2 separate regions of the Homo sapiens genome follow, and region 1 is linked to region 2. The links are contacts of gene promoters, found by promoter capture Hi-C in human tissues and cell types (Jung and others, 2019). All regions are on one chromosome and are shown on one strand. Each heading gives the region's core, a stretch centred on a gene start or on the middle of the fragment in contact. The rest is flanking DNA. Distances are from core to core; before and after follow the strand shown. Region 1 overlaps SPDYA (speedy/RINGO cell cycle regulator family member A). Region 2 holds the start of WDR43 (WD repeat domain 43).

What was found. Contacts are between HindIII fragments. The study calls those that stand out against the background at their distance.
Region 1: a fragment that was not itself captured here is called in contact with the fragment with the promoter of WDR43 in region 2 in 1 of the 25 tissues and cell types used here (adrenal gland).

Annotation. Positions count from the first base shown.
Region 1 is chr2:28,843,588-28,846,884 of GRCh38, reverse strand. The region is part of intron 7 of SPDYA (speedy/RINGO cell cycle regulator family member A); the gene reads right to left. Among named protein-coding and RNA genes, the nearest start is that of TRMT61B, 25 kb to the left of the region's middle. The HindIII fragment of the contact is 7,965 bases long and covers 1-3,297 here.
Region 2 is chr2:28,893,015-28,896,247 of GRCh38, reverse strand. It overlaps WDR43 (WD repeat domain 43), which reads right to left and starts at 1,581. Exons shown (of 18, transcript NM_015131.3): 1 at 1,325-1,581. The coding sequence starts at 1,549. RefSeq lists enhancers at 192-813, 888-987, 814-1,437 and silencers at 1,088-1,207, 1,228-1,277, 1,318-1,377, 1,518-1,597. The HindIII fragment of the contact is 10,077 bases long and covers 1-3,233 here.

The DNA of each region.
Region 1 (3,297 bases), core at 608-3,107, 50 kb after region 2:
CTCCTGTTTCATGGAGAATACATTGTTTCTGTTTGGCACATGGTGCTCAGTAGATGTTGAATTGAACAAGACCTTTTTAACAGTATCCATTCATTTCCCCTCACTTCCCTTTGTGTGTGTGTGTGTGTGTGTGTGTGTGTGTGTGTGTGTGTGTGTGTGTGTAGTTTTCTTCTATTTCTCTTCTTTTTCTTTGGTAGTTGTCCATTCTAGTCAATCAAGGCCCAGCTTAAGCTCTTTCTTCAGCCTTCCTCCAAACAATAAGTATGTTTACAGTCTGGTTTATGGGACAGATACCTTCTAATGTTAGCCTTCTATGTCTATGTCTGGCTGTCCTGTAAACTAAAGATTTGAGACTGACCGAAAACTGTCATCCCAATGCCTTCCAGAGGCCCTACCTTTTATACCCAGTAAATAGTCACTAAAACTTTCCTGATGTCTTTAAACCTACACTGGATCATGTTTTTGTTTTTGTTTTTTGAGATGGCATCTAGCTCTGTCACCCAGGCTGGAGTGCAGTGGTGCAGTCTCAGCTCACTGCAACCTCCACCTCCCAGGTTCAAGCAATTCTCCTGCCTCAGTCTCTGGAGTAGCTGGAATTACAGGCATGCACCACCACCACGCCTGGCTAATTTTTCTATTTTTAGTAGAGATGGGGTTTCACCATGTTGGCCAGGCTGGTCTCGAGCTCCTGACCTCAAGTGATCTGCCCGCTTCAGCCTCCCAAAGTGCTGGGATTACAGGCGTGAGCCACCATGCCCAGCCAAGGGTCATGTATTGTTTTATCTGTTGACTTGGTTGTTCTAGAGGGAAATTTAGGTATACATAGTATATAGTTCTGCGATTGTGGGAGGCTTTCATTTTGAACTTCATATTTTCAGAGGCAGTGGGAACTTCTGAAGTTTCTATGGTCATGTAAAAGGTATTTTAAGTTAATCTGTTAGTGGTGTCTATGAGAATTTAACTGGAGGAAAAAACTGTTAAATCAGAGCTTTCATAGTAATACATATATAAGGTGATTAATCGTAGAAAATGAGCAGACAGGTCGGGCGCGGTGGCTCACGCCTGTAATCCCAGCACTTTGGGAGGCTGAGACAGGTGGATCACCTGAGGTCAGGAGTTCGAGACCAGCCTGACCAACATGGTGAAACCCTGTCTCTACTAAAAATACAAAAACTAGCTGGGCATGGTGGAGCATGCCTGTAATCCCAGCTACTGGGAAGGCTGAGGCACAAGAATTGCCTGAACCCAGGAGATGGAGGTTGCAGTGAGCTGAGATCGCACCATTGCACTCCAGCCTGGGCAACAAGCAAAACTCCATCTCAAACAAACAAAGAAAGAAACAAAATATTATGAAAGAACAACCAGATAAGCTGGTAATTCATTGGATGCAGAGAGAAAATTTATATATCGAGACTTTTTGACTTACAATGGAGTTATGTCCCAATAAACTCTTGTAACTTGAAGATATCATTAAGTCAAAATGCATTTGGGCCAGGTGCAGTGATTTACATCTGTAACCCCACCACTTTGGGAGGCCAAGGTGGGAGGATTGCTTGAGGTCAGGAGTCCGAGACCAGCACCAGTCTGGGCAACATAGGAAGTCTCTACAAAAAAAAAAAGAAAAAAAAAAAAAAAGCTGGGCATGGTGGCACGTGCCTGTAGTGCCAGCTACTCAGGAGGCTGAGGTGGGAGGATCACTTGAACAGAGGAGGTTGAGGCTACAGTGAGCTGTGATCACATCACTACACTCCAGCCCAGGTGACAGAGCAAGATCCTGGCTGGTGGGGGAAAAAAGCATTTGGCTGGGCACAGTAGCTCACTCTTGTAATCCCAGCACTTTGGCAGACAGAGGTGGAGGATTGCTTAAGGCCAGGAGTTCATGACCAGCCTGGGCAATGTGAGACCCCATCTCTATTTTTAAAAAATGTTTTTATTTTATTTTTTTCTTTTTTGAGATGGAGTCTCACTCTGTTGCCCAGGCTGGAGTACAGGGGCATGATTTTGGCTCACTGCAACCTCCGCCTCCCGGGTTCAAGCAATTCTCCTGTCTCAGCCTCCCGAGTAGCTGGGACTACAGGCACCCGCACCATGCCCAGCTAAATTTTGTATTTTCAGTAGAGATGGGGTTTCACCATATTGGTCAGGCTGATCTCGAACTCCTGACCTCAGGTGATCCACCCGCCTCGGCCTCCCAAAGTGTTGGGATTACAGATGTGAGCCACCGCGCCCAGCAAAAAATATTTTTAAAAAGATGCGTTTAATACAGCTAACCACCGAACATCACAGCTTAGCCTAGCCTACCTTAGTGTGCTCAGAACGCTTACATTAGGCTACAGGTGGGCAACATCATCTGGCAATGCGGTACACTGTCGAAAATCAGTTGTTTACTCTCATGATTTCATGGCTGCCTGGAAGCTGCAGCTCACTGCCTCTGCCCAGCATCAAGAGAGACCATGATACAGCTTTCCACTGAATGTGTATAGCAACCATAGGTAAGTCAAGGACCAGCTGTATTTTCAAACTTCTGTCTGCTATTCAGAAGGCCCTTCCCTTAATTCTCTGGGCAAAACAGGACTCAGTCAATGCCCAGCTAATATCTTACTTTGAAAAACCTTCACCAAACCTCTCACCCCACAGAATTAATTCTGAAATCTTTTGTGCTCCTCAATGTTGATCATATACTTAGCACAGCCCTTATCACATTATTAACTTATATGCCCTAATTATACCTTCATTAAGTGTAAGAATTTTAAACCTGGGTGACTAGAACAGTGGTAATGACAAAAATAAGTAAGAAAATTCAAAGAAGGATTTATTTCTGAGGAAAAATTACTTGGTTTTAGATTATTTAACAGTTGTAATGTTACATGCCTCCCTATATGATCCAGGGCTAAAGCTTGGCATATTTTTTTTTCCCTTGGCTTCACTCTAAAATCTCATGGGTCCTCAGATAATACATAATATATATCTATGTTTCACATGGACCAGCCCAGGCGTCATAAAGCTTACAACAGCATACAGTAAGGAGAAACAATAGTAGTTTAGTTATTATAAAAATATGTTATATATTCAGATAGAACTGGGTTCCCATCTTGTTTCTGTTATTGTTTTACCTGGTAATGGTGTGACTTTTCTGAGTTTGTTTTTTCATCAGTAAAATGAATATAATAATGCCACTTCAAGATTTCTTAGGGGGTTGGATGTTAAATGAGATTAAGTATCTAGCGTGTGATTGGTGATTGTGATGTATATAAATATGTAAAGAATGCTTCATCTAAAAAAAAAAGAATGCTTCAT
Region 2 (3,233 bases), core at 332-2,831:
TCCACGCACCTACCTAACCACTGCTCCGTATTTCTCTCAGCATTAGTATTACTATCACTTTACAGGACTGTTAAAATACAACCACAGAAAACTTTGAAAATAAAAGATAAGCAGAGCGCTGTAATTTTAACAATAAAAACTGATTTTTTTTTTAGTTTTATGTTTGACTTATAAGCCCTGATAGGTTTATTTTATGAATCAACAGGATAAACTATGAAAATGTAGCTTAAAATTTGAAAAATATCTAAACATGCCCAAAGTATAGCAACTTATATGTATCCCTTTTCCCAACCCAAAAATTTAGCAGGCTTCCCAGGTCGTCAGAGAGAGTAAGATCCTAAATAGCTTTTACAGTTCTCCACATTGAAACAGCTCACATCACACACCTCAGGATACCTGATGTTTCCAAATCACTTTGCAGTGATTCGGTTTGGCTACTCTGTAAACGCAATAACCACGTGCATGCTGAGTTAGAGAGATGTAGCTGAGTGACTCAACAGTGAAAGGCATTTACCTGACACGGGTCCCTAACAATGAAAAGCTCTGCCTAACTCGGCAGTTTTCCATCTAAGGGTAATTTCATCTGCACTCATAAAACATTCACTAAATCAAGCTACTACTTCACTTAACCTCCACATCCTAATACAGACTTCAGATTGGGGTGGGTGGGGAGCAGTGTGATCGGCTTGAAAGCGGGGCGGGAGGGGCGAGCAGATGTTAAAATCAAAAAGCAGTGAGTTCAAAAAGCTGAGAATGTAGAGGTGCCTGGGAAAGGCAAAAGTTAAGAGTTGAGAGTCCCACAACCTGGACGGGGACGAGAACACGTGGTGAGCCGGCACCCAAAGGGGGGGCAGGAGGGGGAAGGTCCGGAAGCAAGTACAGACTAGTCCATACCAACTGCCCAGTGCAAAACTGATGAGCCGGATCACAGACAGAGGAAAGTTAGATAGTCCCAAGATGGGGCTCTGTCAAAAACCAGAACTCTGATGAGCCAAGGCCCGGCAGAAGGAAGCCGCCCCAGGGGGACCAGGGGACTTGGCGAACATGGCTGCCCGTCAACAGTGGGGCCCAGGCCTCATTGGGCCAGCCGGCAGGGCTCGGATACGAGGCCGGCCGGGTCGAGCTGCGCCCTCCCTCACTGCCCTCGCGGCAGGCCGCACGCGGGGCTGGCGGCTTGGGCCCTGAACGCGCCGACGCCGCCTCCAAGCCTTCTGGCCCGGGCCGCTGAGAGCCACGCGCGATGCCGGACCACGCGCCACCCGGCCCGGAGGCCCGAAGCCGAGCCCGGGAAGGCGCCCGCCCCGCGCAGTCCCGCTCGCTTTACCTTGGCCTGCAGCCGCGCTGGCGCCCAGGCCAGACAGGTGCAGGTACCACTGAGGTGCGCGGAAGGCACGTACTCCTGGTGCAGCCGGTTGTTGGCCGTCTCCCATACTCGTAAGTGACCGTCGGTAGAGGCCAAAGCGAAGTAGGCCTGGCTGTGCGGGGAGAAGGCGCAAGGGACCCCAGCAGGGGCCAGGGGGTCGCAGCTACCGCCGCCGCCCGCCGCCATTGCTGCTCTGGCCCCGCTGCAGCCACGTGTTCGTCCGTGCGCAGGCGCACCGGCGCGGGGCGGAGCCTGGAGGAGGAAGTGAGGCGGAGGGAGCGCCGGGGGCTCAGGGAGTGGATCTTCGCGTCGCAGGAGAGCTTCTGGCGGATCCGCCCTGTGGACGGTGGCCCGCTAGGGCCTGTCGCTATCTTGTTCTGGGCGGGAGTGGGAGTATGGGAGAAAGTAATTGTAGAATTAAGATCAAGTCCTGTTCCTTTAAAAAAAAAAAAAAAGGGGGGGGGCCGGGCGCGGTGGCTCACGCCTGTAATCACAGCACTTTGGGAGGCCGAAGTGGGCGGATCCCCTGAGGTCGGAGTTCGAGACCAGCCTGACCAACATGTAGAAACCCCCGTCTCTACTAAAAATAAAAAAATTAGCCGTGGGCTGGGCGCGGTGGCTCACGCCTGTAATCCTAGCACTTTGGGAGGCCGAGGCGGGTGGATCATAAGGTCAGGAGTTCAAGACCAGCCTGGCCAAGATGATGAAACCTCGTCTCTACTAAAAATACAAAAAAATTAGCCGGGCTTGGTGGTTGGCACCTGTATGTAATCCCAGCCACTCGGGAGGCTGAGGCAGAGAATTGGTTGAACCCGGGAGGCGGAGATTGCAGTGAGCCGAGATCGCGCCCCTGCACTCCAGCCTGGGCGACAGAGCGAGACTCGTCTCAAAAAAAAAAAAAAAAAAAAAAAAAAAAAAAAAATAGCCAGGCGTGTGGCGCACGCCTGTAATCCCAGCTACTCGAGAGGCTGAGGCAGGAGAATCGCTTGAACTCGGGAGATGGAGGTTGCTGTGAGCCGAGATCGCGCCATTATACTCCGGGCAACAAGAGTGAAACTCCGTCTTAAAAAAATAAATAATAAATAAATAACAATTTTTTAAAACTTTAAAGAAAATGATAAGGTAGAACGAAAGGTTTGAAGGAAATCTTCAGCCGAGCGCGGTGGCTTACACCTATAATCCCACTTTGGGAGGCCGAGGCGGGCAGATCGCCCGAGGTCAGAGTTCGAGACCAAGCTAGGCAAAATGGCGAAACCTTGTCTCTACTAAAAATACTAAAATTAGCCGGGTGTGGTGGTGTGTGCCTGTAGTCCCAGCTACTCGGGAGACTGAGGCAGGAGACTCCTTGAACCCGGGAGGTGGAGGTTGCAGTGAGCCGAAATCGCCACGCCACTGCACTCCAGTCTAGGTGACAGAGCGAGACTGTCTCAAAAAAAAAGAGAGAGAAAAGAAGTCTTCACTTTCAAATTGATAATGATTGTAACAACTGCTTCCGTTTCCCCCTATTCAATTCCAGGCTGTAATCATTTACAAAATAACAATGTATTCAGTTATAATAATGTAAAAGTAATGATCGGAACAACTATTCCCTCCTGTTTCTCCAGATTTATCTCATGTTGCTACATCAAATAGACATTTTTAGGCACACGCCCATAGTCTGGAGGCTGAGGGAGGAGGATGGCTTGAGCCCACGAGGTCGAGGCTACAGTGAGCTATGACTGCTCCACTGCACTCTACCCTGGGTGACATAGTGAGATCCTGTATCCAAAAAATAAAGGGTAGATTTTTATATTTCTCCTAAATATTCACCAAATCAATGCATTCTAATTCAAGGAATGCTAGGTACTGTTCAGCCCACACAGAGCCTATT